Regions from separate parts of the Homo sapiens genome. Here all the other regions are linked to region 1. Evidence: promoter capture Hi-C in 16 types of primary human blood cells and fetal thymus (Javierre and others, 2016). All regions are on one chromosome and are shown on one strand. Each heading gives the region's core, a stretch centred on a gene start or on the middle of the fragment in contact. The rest is flanking DNA. Distances are from core to core; before and after follow the strand shown.

What was found. Contacts are between HindIII fragments. The CHiCAGO score rates a contact against its expected background, and 5 or more counts as called.
Region 2: a contact is called between a fragment that was not itself captured here and the fragment with the promoter of NFE2L3 in region 1, in 1 of 17 cell types (fetal thymus). The highest score is 5.6, in fetal thymus.
Region 3: a fragment that was not itself captured here is called in contact with the fragment with the promoter of NFE2L3 in region 1 in 1 of 17 cell types (activated CD4 T cells); the score reaches 5.4 in activated CD4 T cells.
Region 4: a fragment that was not itself captured here is called in contact with the fragment with the promoter of NFE2L3 in region 1 in 4 of 17 cell types (activated CD4 T cells, non-activated CD4 T cells, total CD8 T cells and 1 more); the score reaches 8.7 in activated CD4 T cells.

Annotation. Positions count from the first base shown.
Region 1 is chr7:26,150,283-26,153,786 of GRCh38, forward strand. NFE2L3 (NFE2 like bZIP transcription factor 3) reads left to right here and starts at 1,916. Exons shown (of 4, transcript NM_004289.7): 1 at 1,916-2,786. The coding sequence starts at 2,217. RefSeq lists silencers at 1,705-2,084, 2,105-2,174, 2,185-2,254, 2,365-2,614, 2,625-2,694 and enhancers at 1,876-2,670, 2,671-3,464, 2,815-3,004. The HindIII fragment of the contact is 3,470 bases long and covers 343-3,504 here.
Region 2 is chr7:25,946,475-25,949,978 of GRCh38, forward strand. The region is part of intron 6 of LOC105375199 (a long non-coding RNA gene); the gene reads right to left. MIR148A (microRNA 148a) reads right to left here; the gene lies at 3,445-3,504. Among named protein-coding and RNA genes, the nearest start is that of MIR148A, 1.8 kb to the right of the region's middle. RefSeq lists an enhancer at 1,553-1,622. The HindIII fragment of the contact is 2,684 bases long and covers 499-3,182 here.
Region 3 is chr7:26,317,742-26,321,245 of GRCh38, forward strand. The region is part of intron 1 of SNX10 (sorting nexin 10); the gene reads left to right. Among named protein-coding and RNA genes, the nearest start is that of SNX10, 28 kb to the left of the region's middle. The HindIII fragment of the contact is 372 bases long and covers 1,430-1,801 here.
Region 4 is chr7:26,298,731-26,302,234 of GRCh38, forward strand. All of the region lies in intron 1 of SNX10 (sorting nexin 10), which reads left to right. Among named protein-coding and RNA genes, the nearest start is that of SNX10, 8.6 kb to the left of the region's middle. The HindIII fragment of the contact is 7,941 bases long and covers 1-3,504 here.

The DNA.
Region 1 (3,504 bases), core at 666-3,165:
TTACCAATTCACATTGTAAAATGGTGAGGGGTTAGCCCACTTCCCAACAAATGTTAGAAGTTTGTATGTGCTTCCTGTTCCCAGTCTATTCAGATTTCTCAAAATACATCTCAAGTGTAACCTCCTCAATTCAACTAATATTTTTTTTGAGCATCAACTGTGTGTAAGATTCTGGAGGGCACCGCCTTGAAGAAGGCACCGCCTCTACTCTCAATAGTTTTAGAGCTCCCTATATAAACCTTGAAGTAATTTACATCTAAGTATTTTGGCAATTGAGTACATTATTTCTCTTGTTTCTTAGTGTCTCACAAATTTTTATCTCATCTCCCTAGTAAAACCATAAGCTTACGGAAGGAAAGAACTCCGTTTCATATCCTTCATGCCTCCAGCACAGCCTCAGGCAGTTAGTAGGTTCTCAGTAAAAAGCTGAAGGCAGCATTTACTAAGCTGAGACTCTAAATCCGCTGTTCAAAGACTAAATGCTGTGAACGGGGTCTTGATAACCTGGCAATCACCTTTCTTCATCCTCTTTGCCACCCCAACCCATCTTCCAAGGCTTAACACAGAGGAAGCAACTTTCCTCTGCTCCCCTGTTTCTGCTCCCCTGGTCCCCATTCTTTTCTCTTCTTACTACACTAGCCCAGGAGAGAGATGAGAAAGCCAGGTGGAGGGAGGGGCCTTTTAAAACAAGTCTTGCTCAACTTTTTACACAACTGCCCATTCTCAGTTGGGCATCCCCTCCTGTCCCCTTTTCTTCCAAGGAAGGGAGCTAAGGTTAGTAAAACCTACCCTTGCAAGGCCCAGTGCTGGGTACTGTGCATGGACAAAGGTGAACCAAACAGGTTCCTTGTCCTCAAGAATTTACAATGGGCAAATCAGACCGATTCTCATCTACAACACAGAGTTGAATGGGCCAACTGTTACAATGTTGGCAAACGGAGAAATCACGGTGCAACAGATGGGGGAGAGATTAATGCCAACTGGTGAAAATTCAGAGGATGTAGCTTTGGAGCTAAGCCTTGAGGGTGAGTAACACAAACAATGGGTAGCAGGGAGCACTTCCTACCCATGCAGTGCTGTGGTCGGTGGTTTACATGCATTATCTCATTTGGGGCTCACAAAAGGTCTGCTGGGGAGGTGCTATTATTAGTCTCATTTTACAGTGAGAAAACTGAGGCACAGAGAAAAGGAGAGATTTGTCCAAGGTCGCCCCTCAAGTGGAGGGGGGACTTGAACTCACTCAGGGTAACTGTAGAGCTGGTGCTGTCAACCCTCAAGGAAACAACGGATAAGGAGCAAAGGATACCGAGAGGAGGTCTAGCACTATGCAGAGCACGCCCAGAGAAGAGAGAGGGGTCTGTGAGGCTGGGACTGGGGTGTGCGGAGTGGTGGGATGACTGATCCCAATGGCAACGGTGGAATTTATATGTGAAACTCCGAACTTTACACGAAATATTTCATCTGACCTCAACACATCCCTGTTTGACAGGCTCTATGATCCCCATTTTACAGATAGCGGAACTGAGACAGAGAGGTTACTCTTGCCCACTCTGCCCGCCAAGTGTCCTCACGTTGGGGTGGAAGCCCGTTGCAAGCTGCCAGGCCCCTCGTAGCTGCCCAGTCACTCTCCGCCCAGTCTACACATCCTGTCCCTTCCCACCCAGCTACCCACCACCTAGCCCTCCACCCCAACTCCCGCCCTTGGCTTTCAGCAAGGATGGCCCAGCTCACGGCCACAGGGTGGCAAGGGGCCACTTGGTGCCCAGAACAACTTCTGCTCCCAGAAAGCCTTGCGTTCCCCGGACATAAAGAGGCTTTGAGCTCGGGGAGCCCCGCCCCGTGCGGCCCCTCCCACGGGCGCGGGCCCCGGGCGGCAGGGGGCGTGTTCCTGTCGGCTGCGCCCGCGGCCGGGGGCGGAGCTTGGCCACCGCGCCGGGCTGCGGGCGGCTGGGCGAACGGGCTCGGCGCTCAGGTGGCTCCTTCTTCGCTTCTCCCGATCCCCGGCGGTGCCAGGCACGGTGCCGGCTGCCGAGGGAACGCCTTTGTGCCCGGTGCTGGGAACCCGCGACGGCCGCCACGCGCCCCGGTCCATTGTTTCGCTTATCTGGGTTCCAGGCAGGTGCGGGCGGCGCGCGGGGTCCGCACGTGTCACCCCGGCGGCTGGGGCGCCGGGACCCGCGGGCGCCGGCAGGGGCGTTCCCGGGCGCGCGGCGGCGATGAAGCACCTGAAGCGGTGGTGGTCGGCCGGCGGCGGCCTCCTGCACCTCACCCTCCTGCTGAGCTTGGCGGGGCTCCGCGTAGACCTAGATCTTTACCTGCTGCTGCCGCCGCCCACCCTGCTGCAGGACGAGCTGCTGTTCCTGGGCGGCCCGGCCAGCTCCGCCTACGCGCTCAGCCCCTTCTCGGCCTCGGGAGGGTGGGGGCGCGCGGGCCACTTGCACCCCAAGGGCCGGGAGCTGGACCCTGCCGCGCCGCCCGAGGGCCAGCTGCTCCGGGAGGTGCGCGCGCTCGGGGTCCCCTTCGTCCCTCGCACCAGCGTGGATGCATGGCTGGTGCACAGCGTGGCTGCCGGGAGCGCGGACGAGGCCCACGGGCTGCTCGGCGCCGCCGCCGCCTCGTCCACCGGAGGAGCCGGCGCCAGCGTGGACGGCGGCAGCCAGGCTGTGCAGGGGGGCGGCGGGGACCCCCGAGCGGCTCGGAGTGGCCCCTTGGACGCCGGGGAAGAGGAGAAGGCACCCGCGGAACCGACGGCTCAGGTGCCGGACGCTGGCGGATGTGCGAGCGAGGTAGGTGCAGAGCGGGAAGCGAGCGAAGTGCGGCGTCTACGCCGCCGGGAGCCCCCGAGGCTTGTGTCGGATCTGAGCAGGGGCCACTCTCGCTGTGTCCTGGCACCCTTAGCCCCTGGTCTTTGCAGGTTCGCAGATGCTGCTGCTCTGATTCCGAATGAAGGGCTACTAGTGCTGTCGCTGTGGTTTTTAGGTGTTTAAGGAAGAAGTGGACGAAATCATCCGTTTGGTTATAGAGAATACCTTTCCTTGTGTGTGATGGCTGGCAAGAGTAGTTCGGGGATGGGGAGGGGAGAAGCAATGCCCACTGTCTTCGCTCAGTACCTCATGTACACTGGGGTGTCGTTCTCTGGGACCCGTGCCCGACCTGGACGATGTGAAGGAGGCCGTGACCTCTGGGAGGATGCATGTTTTTAAGAACGACTCTCCCGGCCTAACGCAAGGACCTTCGCCCTGTTTTCAGCCCAATTGCTGTTCGTTTTTGCTGCTTCCCTGGATTAAGGAGCCATGGTCAGGGTCTATTCAGAGGCCAGCCGGCAGGCGGTCCCCCTGTGACCTAACCATCCCCTGCACCTAGCAATCCTCCTTCCTGGAATTTGTGTAACCTCTTATTAGCATAACGAAAACAGGTACCTTGGCAGTCACTTAGTGACTAACAAGTTCCCTTTGGTTTATGGGTCCAAACCCTTCTCTGGCTTAACTTCTTTCTGAAACCAAG
Region 2 (3,504 bases), core at 591-3,090, 200 kb before region 1:
ACCTCATAGAATAAATGATTTCACATACGTGAATGGTTACAACAGTGCTTTGCACAAATTAAGTACTACTTAACCAGCTATTTTTTGTATTTCTTCTATTAACTGGCAAACACAGAGAGAGAGGAATATCTAAGAAGCAAATCAGAGGTAATTTCAGGGTGTCTCTTTGCTGTGTGGAGACACTCCTGGCTCTCCTAGTGCCCACTTAATTAATTCACAGATCAGAATTGCAAGACCTATGTCTAATATTGCCAGGGGTCTGCAGAAGAGACATTGTCCTCCTTCCAGCTGGCTCCTCCAACACAGCCAAAGCAACATGGGTTGTTCATTCCTTACACATCAACTATAGCTGTGGGAACAATGAGTTCTGCCTTTTTTTCCCTGTCCACTGCTTTCATATTTAAGGTTGCTCCTGTGTCAGTAGTGATTATCTCAGAAGATCTCCCTGTATATAAGGCCCCATGAACAAGAAAATTTTGTATCAATTAACAAGAGACAAGCTTAGGGGAAGAAGTGCTTCCTGAACATCACCTGCAGACTAGACTATAGCACTCTTGTGGGATCCCAACAAATACGTCGTCCACCCCGCTCCCAACTATTTAAAGAATATTTGAAAGCACTCGAATTCTTTGGCATAAACACTCTTTGAAATGCAAGTTATGTCGAATCCTAGAATTTTACTTCTGGAAGATGTGGTGGGAGATTATATAAAATGGGGAATCAGTGACCCAGCACCATGGCTTCCCAGCTCCTCTGCACGCCCCCCCATATTTCCCAACCCTTGCATTTGAAATTTAAAATGTTCTTTAAAAAATTAAAGGCTTTCAGTGTTGAGTGATAGTCACGCACTGCATAAGGATATTTCAGTCAACAATGGACCAAATATATGACAGTAGTCGCGTAAGATTATAATGAAGCTGAAAAATTCCTACAGCCTAATGATGTCACAGCTGTCATGTCATAGCATTTTTTTTAAATATAGTGTAGCCTAAGTTTATAATATTTATAAAGTCTACAATAGTGTAACGTCCTAGGCCTTCACATTCACTCACCACTCACTGACTCACCCAGAGCAACTTCTAGTCCCACAAGCTCCATGCATGCTAAGTGTCCCATATGGGTGTAACATTTTTTACATTTTATATTGTATTTTTACTGTACCTTTTGTACGGTTAAATAAATCCTTACCATTGTGTTACATTTGCCTACAGCACTCAGTACAGTACCATCCTGCACAGGTTTGTAGCCCAGGAGCACTAGGCTATGGCATACAGCTTAAGTGTGTGGTAGTCTCTACCACCCAGGTTTAAGAACACTCACTCTGTGATGTTTGCAAAAACAATGAAATCGCCTAACACCACGTTTCTCAGAACCTATCCTCATCATTAAGCAATGCATGACTAAAGTTTCAGCTGCACCTGTTTGGTTCATTCACATAAAGTATCTAAAATAAAGACAGGAGTGCCAAGGCCATGCAAAGTAGGTTGCTAGTGATGGTTTCCTTTGCCCAGCGATCTGGGTTAAATGAACACCACGGCCTCCCCAGCGTTCCTTGTTCTTCCTTCCCTGACGTTTATCACCCTTCTGATTATTTTATATTTGTATTGTCTACCTCTTGCATGAGAAAGACCTCCAAGAGGGCAGGGTTCGGGGCCTATTTTGTTCACTGTTGCATTCGTAACGTCTAGAGTAACACCTGATGCTCGGGAGGTGAAAATACACTGATTGCTAAACGACTGAGGTCTATGAGACCATGCCAGGTTTACAGTAAGCACCCCAAGACTGCCGATTTTCCCAGTTCCTATTCCTGGCATCCTTAGCACCAGAGTAAACCACAGCCCTCCTGCTTGGTTAGTCCTTAACTCACTTGTGGTCACAAACAGGAGAAATGCAAATCACTTAAGCATAGAAGTCAAACCAGACTGAATCATGTCAGGGACTCCAAACCTTGCCTTTCTCTGGAGGTGAGAGATCCTGACCTAATTCCTTTGTATGGATGACTACTCTCCCAGTCAACCGCTCCACTCTTTACCTCCCATTCTCTTACAAAGTTGATTTAAGTTTTCTTAAAATTCAGTATATTCAGACTATCTTGTGGAGATGTACAGACATAAGAACTAGGAAAGAGAATCCTCTTCCTCAAGTAAGCATACCTTACATCTCAAATGAACACAAGACGTACTTGAGTTTGGATCACTTTATTTAACTGCACAGAAATAATTCAGCCATTTTTGGGTAAAGGATTGAGGAACAAAAGCAAAGCAGTCACTGATGGAAAAGTGGGAGAATGGATAATGGCCACACAAAAGAGAACACATGCTGCCTTAGGATCAATACACAGCATTTCTGTGAAAAGCAACTGGTAGGTCCTGCCATTAAGCTCTAACATCAAGCAGCTGAATACTTTCTCCCTCATTGAGCCTTCCTCCATTATCATCCCTCTCCCGATGATAAACCACTGGAATATACCTAAGTAAAAAAAATGGTGGCTTTCTTTACCAAGGGCTTCCCAGAGACACAAGCAACCCCCAGGTTTCTGAAGCATCCCATAAAATACATCAGAAGGCCCTTCCCTTACCTGTCAGCACCACGGGCACAGGAACCATTTCCTTTTTTCCCTACCACCCTGCGTCCTGTGCCTGGCCAAAAGCTCATAAAACCAAAACAGGGCAATGTCCATGGAACAGGACTACAATTTGGTGCCAGTCACTGACCCACTATAGAGAGCAGGCTATTGATAGAAACTCACCAACCCAAACCTCCATTCCACTAGGGATGAGAGAGCAGTCTCTCCACCTAAAGGATCTCCACAGCCCAAAAGCATAAATGTCCCCCTCCCCCAGTGGCTTTCAAAATGCTTTCTTGGAAAAAGTTCTTCCTTTCCATTAATAAAACTTACTTTAAAAAACAAAAGTGAACTGCATCTAAATCGGAAGCAGAATTGAGACTAGATCTCCAAACTCAATCCCTGCAGGCTGTCATTTATCCAGCAGGTCGCTTGAGTAAAAGGACCATTATCTGTGGCTTTTGTACAAATACATTTCCTTCTTTAAGGGTAGAGAGTTTAAATTCCTGCAAGGCACTGCACACTAACACACCCATTAATAAATCTGCAGCTCTCCTGGCTCAGTTTAAGTGAGGCCAGTCTTTCAGTACCTGTTAAGCAACCTTGAAAAGTCCAAAGCTTTATTTTTTTCTTCTTTAAACCAAAAAATTCTACAGTCAGGAGTCCACCAGGGTAAGATGAAGAGATTTGGGGGGATTTTGTTCCCATTTACAGGGTTTAACCCACCCGCTTCAAGGGAATTGGTCAAGTTCCTCGTGCTGCACTTGGACCCCCTCTGGCCTTGCCCCTCCCCCAAGGGAAAGGCGCAGCGACGTGGCCACCAGGGCCACTCGGCCTGGCGTCTGGAGCACTGGCGGCATCGGCGACCACAGCCTCTAGAGACAAAGTTCTGTAGTGCACTGACTTCTATCATACTCAGAGTCGGAGTGTCTCAGAAC
Region 3 (3,504 bases), core at 366-2,865, 170 kb after region 1:
AACCTCTGCCTCTTGGGTTCAAGCGATTCTCCTGCCTCAGCCTCCTGCATAGCTGAGATTAAAGGCACATACTACCACGCCCAGCTAATTTTTTTATTTTTAGTAGAGATGGGGTTTCACCATATTGGCCAGGCTGGTCTTGAACTCCTGACTTCATAATCTGCCTGCCTCGGCCTCTCAAAGTGCTGGGATTACAGACGTGAGCCACCACGCCCGGCTTTCATGGTGATCTTCTAATAGGCCAAATGTCTTCGGCATCTAGGATATGGGAAAGGCCTTTATGGGACTGTTGGTTTGAAGACACATTCAGAATGGAGCTTACTTGAAAGCAATTGGAGTATGCCCAGAATATACTAGAATTTTAAGACGCAAATGTTAGATCACATCGCCTACATTTCTGATGGTAGTCAATCTTGAATAGCCAGGCTAACGCATATTTCCTGTACCAATAGCCGTACACTATTTGCCCAGTGATTTTTTTTTTCCACAGTGTTTGCAGGTATATGTGGTTATTTCTTATAGCTAAGTGTGCAGGGATCCTTGTGCATCCTTTGAGAAAGGCGAGTCTTGCTTTTGTCTCTCTGGTCTGTGAAGATGTACATGTATATGCAGATATCCAATCCAGCTTTTTTATTGGAATAATATCGTTTTTTACACCTTCCATTGTTCTTATATTTTGAAGAAAAAAGTACCAATAATTCAGCCAGTGGTCATACTTATTTATTATTGTTATTATTATTATTTGAGACAGGGTTTCACTCTGTTGCCCAGGTTGGAGTGCAATGGCGAGATCATGGCTCACTGCAATCTCTGCCTCCTGGGCTCAAACAGTCTTCCCATCTTAGCCTCCCGGGTAGCTGGGATTATAGGTGCCTGCCGAAAAAAATGCTTCGCTAATTTTTGTGTTTATTGTACACATGGGGTTTTGCCATGTTGCCCAGGCTGCTTTCGAACTTGAGACTCAAGTGATCTGTTTGCCTTGGCCTCCCAAATTGCTGGGATTACAGGCATGAGCCACTACACCCAGCCCATACTTAATTTTTCTTGTATACTTAATTTTTCTTGTATACTTCCTAAGTGCTTTAAGTACATTATCTGATTTAATCCTTCTAGTAGCTGTATGAAAGAGTCACTTTTTCTCCACATGAGATCCCTTTTTCTCCAAGAGAATATTGAGGCTTTCTCGGAGAGGTTAAGTAACTTGTTCAAGGTCACACAGCCATGAGTGGCATAGTTGGGGATTTGAACCGAGATATGAATGACTCCAAACCTGAACTCTAAACTTTGATGCTGCCTTTCAAGCTAGTTATTGGAGATGATCAAACCCCTGTGTCAGTGGAGGAAGGGAGGTCTGTGTCAAGAGATTTATTGTACTTCTGTGGTCATAAGAGTGGCTTGTGAACAATGTCATGTCTGAAAAGCATTGGGAAGCTTGTTGAATTTAGATTTATTCACTGAATCAGTAGACGTAGATATTGTAGCAGTATCTTTCTAGGCTATTATCTCCTCCTTGAGGAACTCTGGTATATAACAACTGAAAATTAAATATACTTATGAAATGTTAGGAGTTTATGTTTAAAATAGCATTTTTACTTCTTCCTCATTCTTGCCATTTCTGTTCTTCAGTTTCTATGTTAACTGCTTTGCCATTTTCAGGTCAACTACTGTTTGTTGCCTTAAATCTATCTGGGAGCTGCTTCAAATCCATTTGGAAGCAAGGGGAGGATACATTATAAATAAATGATATGTTCAGAGATGGGCAGAGTTGGAAAGACATTTCAGTGAGACGGAAGGCCAGTAAAGCTTTTGTCTATCAGCATCTGATATCATTACAAACATATTGGTCTGGGCTTAGCTTGCTTCTAGACCATCTGGATTTATCTTCAGCTGAGCTAAACCCAGGAAAAAAGACAAAAAAAACCCATTTGGATTTGCTCTGCAGTTCTTATTTTGTTTTTCTTCTAACGCAAACCCTGCTTCAAAAATTAAGTGTTGATTTTGACTGATGATAACAAAACAAAAATACAACCTGATGTGCTAGCTAAGGCGGGGGGGAAATGACAAAAGCCTCAGAGAGCAGGAGCCAAGTGTTCACTTCTCCAGGACGTTTCCTTCCCTAGTACTGGTTTTTCCTAATTCAGCAAAAGAGGAAGAAAGAAGTGTGGGGCTCTTCTTTATTTTATATATCTATATGTATATATATGTTACTTGTATTTATATATTTGTTTATATTTTTAATTAATTAATTTATTTATTTTGAGACAGAGTCTCACTCTGTTGCCCAGGCCAGAGTGCAGTGGTGCAATCTCGGCTCACTGCAACCTCCACCTCCCGGGTTCAAGCGATTCTTCTGCCTCAGCCTCTCGAGTAGCTGGGATTACAGGTGCCCACCAGCACAACCGGCTAGTTTTCATATTTTTAGTAGAGACACGGTTTCACCTTGTTGGCCAGGCTGGTCCCCAACTCTTGACCTCAAGTGATCTGCCTGCCTCGCCCTCCCAAAGTATTGAGATTACAGGTGTGAGCCCCTGCTCCCGGCCTATATTTTTAAATCACAAAAATAATATATAAAAAAAAGTTGTTAATCCTGGAATGTACAAAGTAAAAAAATGAAAGCCCCCTCACCCATCCCACTTCTGTTTACCTTGGCATATATTTTCTGGAATCTTCTTCTTTTTTTAATTTATTTTATTTTATTTTTATTTTTTGAGATGGAGTCTCACTCTGTTGCCCGGGCTGGAGTGCAGTGGTGCGATCTCTGCTCACTGCAATCTCTGCTTCCCGGGTCCAAGTGATTTCTCCTGCCTCAGCCTCCCGAGTAGCTGGGACTACAGGCGCCCGCCACCACGCCCTGCTAATTTTTGTATTTTTACTAGAGACGGGGGTTTCACCATATTGGCCAGGCTGGTCTTGAACTCCTGACCTTTTGATCCGCCTGCCTCGGCCTCCCAAAGTGCTGGGATTACAGGCATGAGCCACCGCACCCAGCCTGGAATCATCTTCTATGCATACAAGCATGTATACACATATGTACACACTTAATGGAATCATGCTGCTATTGTTCAGCCATTTGCTGTTTCCTGTTTGTGCAGCATGGACATCTCTCTATCCCAGGATTTACAGATTCACCTCTTTCCTTTGAATTACAAGGTATTCCATGACTACATCCTGCTTTATTTAATCGTTTCCTTACCAAGGGGCATTTGGGTTATCTTAACTCTTCCAGTTATAAACATGGCTCAGTGAGCAGCTGACACATGTGGCTTTACCTCTGGGTGCTGATCTTTCTGAAGGATACCTGCCTAGAGGTAGGGATGCTGAGCCAAAGGTTATGTGAACTCTGGACTTGTCAGTAGCCCTGCGTTTGGATCAGGGTGAAAGTGTGAACATTGGCCTGTTTCAAATGGAGCCATTTCTTCTTGTGGCCATTTTCTGTTTCCATAAGGTAGGCCGAGTAGCATGGAGCTCACAGCCCGGTGTGTAGGCAGAGTTATTTGATGGGGA
Region 4 (3,504 bases), core at 621-3,120, 150 kb after region 1:
AAGTTTATTTCTTAGGGTTTTGGAGGCTGGGAAATGCAGGCTGATTTGTTTCCTACTGAGAGTTCTCTCCCTGGCTTGCAGACAGCCGCCTTCGTGCTGCGTCCTCACATGGTGGAAAAAGAGAGAAAGAGAACAAGCTCTTGGTATCTCCGCTTGGTGTCTCACCAGTCCCATCACGAGGGCCCCACCCTTTTAACCTCATCTAAACCTAATCACCCCATCAGAGGCCCTGTTTCCAAATACCAACACACTGGGGGTTAGGGCTTTACTATATGCATTTTGGCAGGACACAATTCAACCTATACTGTATATTAAGTAATGAAAGCAAAGTGGAAGAACAGTGGGAGAAATACAATCTTATTTTTTGAAAAAATCTGGAAGGATGATATGCCCCTAATTGTAGACAGTCATTACCTGTGGAGAGTGAGATTAGAAAGGGAAAGGGAATGGCATTATGGAGGATTTCAGCAATTTTTTTTTTTTGAGATGGAGTCTCGCTCTGTTGCCCAGGCTGGAGTGCGGTGGTGCGATCTCGGCTCACTGCAACTTCTGCCTCCCGGGTTCAAGCGATTCTTCTGCCTCAGCCTCCTGAGTAGCTGGGATTACAGGCATGTGCCACCACACTCAGCTAATTTTTGTATTTTTAGTAGAGACGGGGTTTCACCATGTTGGTCAGGCTGGTGGACCTTGTGATCCACCTGCCTCAGCCTCCCAAAGTGCTGGGATTACAGGTGTGAGCCACTGTGCCTGGCCTCTGATTTTTTTTTTCAGCTCACTGCGACCTCTGCCTCCCAAGTTCAAGCAGTTCTTCTGCCTTAGCCTCCCCAGTAGCTGGGATTACAGGTGAGCACCACCATACCCAGATAATTTTTATATTTTTAGTAGAGACAGGGTTTCACCGTGTTGGCTGGTCTCGAACTCGTGACCTCGTGATCTGCCCGCCTTGGCCTCCCAAACTGCTGGGATTACAGGTGTGAGCCACCGCATCTGGCCTATATTTCTATTTTTTTCCCCAAACTTTGAAATAATTTTAAAGTATAAAAAGTGCAGGCTGTGTGCAGTGGCTCACACCTGTAATCCCAGCCCTTTGGGAGGCTGAGGTGGGAGGATTGCTTGAGCCTGGGAATTTGAGATCAGCCTGGGCAACATAGTGAGACCCTGTCTCTGTTTTCAAAAAAACTTTTAAAAAGAATAGAAAAGCCGGGCATGGTGGCTCACGCCTGTAATCCCAGCACTTTGGGAGGCCGAGGCGAGTGGATCTCCTGAGGTCAGGAGTTCAAGACCAGGCTGGCCAGCATGGTGAAACCCTATCTCTACTAAAAATACAAAAATTAGCTGGGCATGGTGGTGCATGCCTGTAATCTCAGCCACTCGGGAGGCTGAGGCAGGAGAATTGCTTAAACCTGGGAGGCAGAGGTTGCAGTGAGCAGAGATTATGCCACTGCACTCTAGCCTGGGCAACAGAGCGAGACTCTGTCTCAAAAATAAATAAAAATAAAACAAAGTGCCAAAATAATAATTTTTTTTTTTTTGGCTTAGGGGAGTAGGGACTGTGTCTTGCTGTGTTGCCCAGGCTGGTCTCAGACTCCTGGCCTCAAGGGATCCTCCTGCCTTGGCTCCCAAAGGGTTTAGGATTACAGGCATGAGCCACTACATCTAGCCCTAAATCTTTTATTTTTAAAGATAATAAGTCTGTTATCCTGAAATAAAATAATACTTAAGACCTGTGGAAAAAAATAACAAAATGATTTGAAGTATTAACAGGGCCCTCCTGCCTAGAGCCTCCCAGCTGAACTGCCTAGGGAGGGGTGGTCTCTGCTAGAGTGGAAGACCTGGTCCTCTGAATTTCCAGGTGAGTGTTCCCAGTTGCCTTTTCTGCTACTTATTTTAAAAGGTTTATCCCAGCCTCCATCTCTGAAGGCAGGATGTATGCAGCAAGAGTATTGCTTAATTCAGAAGGGTGATTTACCCTGGATTTCGTGGTCTTTAAGTGCTTTAAAAGAATTAGGCCGAGCACCGTGTCTCTCACTGTAATCTCAGCATTTTGGGATGCTAAGGTGGGTGAATCACTGGAGCTCAGGAGTTCGAGACCAGCCTGGCCAACATGGCGAAACCCCATCTCTACTAAAAATACAAAAATTAGCCAGGTGTGGTGGCGAGCACCTGTAGTCCCAGCTACTCGGGAGGCTGCGATGGGAGAATCACTTGAGCCTGGGAGGTGGAGGTGGCAGTGAGCCGAGATTGTACCACTGCACTCCAACCTGGGTGACAGAGTGATACTCTGTCTCCAAAAAAAAAAAAAAAAAAAAAAAAAGCCATCATCTCTCAGTTTAGTTGTGTTTTCTGAGTATAGCTTAAAACTAGTTATGTTACTTCATCATTGGTATTCATTGGTGTTTTCTCAGCATCACTATCCCTTCCCAAATCCCCCCAAAAACCACACACAGAGTGTATGTCTAACCAGGCTTTCTGGCATTAACAAGGCCAGATCTTATGTTACTCATTGGTATAGTTAAATGTGTATATTCTCTTGTGCTCAAGAAAGGTGGCTGGCAAGGCAGAATTTATAATGAACTACAGATGTCATGTCCTTGATTTTTTCTTTTCCCTATGTGGTCCGAATCCCTTAGGAAGATAGGAAAGGGAAGTCTTGAGCTCCTTTTTAGATTCAGGCTGGAAATGCCTACTAAATTCCTAATAGCTTCCAAGGTGCTGTGCCTTAAGAAGCCTTGGATTCCTGGGGATGAGAGAACAAAAAAGAGGGTGAGGGGGAACCAAAGGGGGCACCAAAGGCCAAAGACAGACTTCACCCAGGACAAGTCCTGTGTCCAAGGAGTGTGACAAGGCTTTCTGACATGCTTCCAGGAACATTTTGTGTTTATTTGGCATGGCATGTTTTAGGAAGGAGATGGAAACATCTATTTAGTACTCAACCATGTACCACACACTGTCCTGGGTACTTCAGTTTACATTATCTCATTATTCCTGTGATATAGGAGATGCTACAGACATTTTCGACAATTCAGAGATATTTCATGACTTGAACAAATGGAGGAGACAGGATTTGAGCCACAGCTGTTCCCATACCCATTTTTTTTTCCAGTACTTTATTTTAAGAGTCCCACCATTGAGTTTGCTTTTAGAGTCAAAATGCACTCTCTCTGATTTAAAAGTTTTTTATTAAGGGAAAAATTTAAAAGTCATACTGGGTACATCGTTAGGCATAGGACTCTGAGGTTACCACTTCTGATCCTCAAACATAATCCATGTAGATTATAAAAGGCTGTAACTTGGGGACTGGGTCATACGTTTTTTCCCTTATACCATAGACAACCAGGGCTTTGTAAAATACCTCAGAGCATTTTAACTTTGACATCAGTGGTGTGAGGTTATTTTCATCTCCTTTTTTTCCAATCTCCCTTCCCATTTTCCATCTCAGGTGTGCATTTTCCTTCTTTGTGCCTTTTTATGCTTCCTTGATTCTGCAAAGGTCCCTTTAGCATG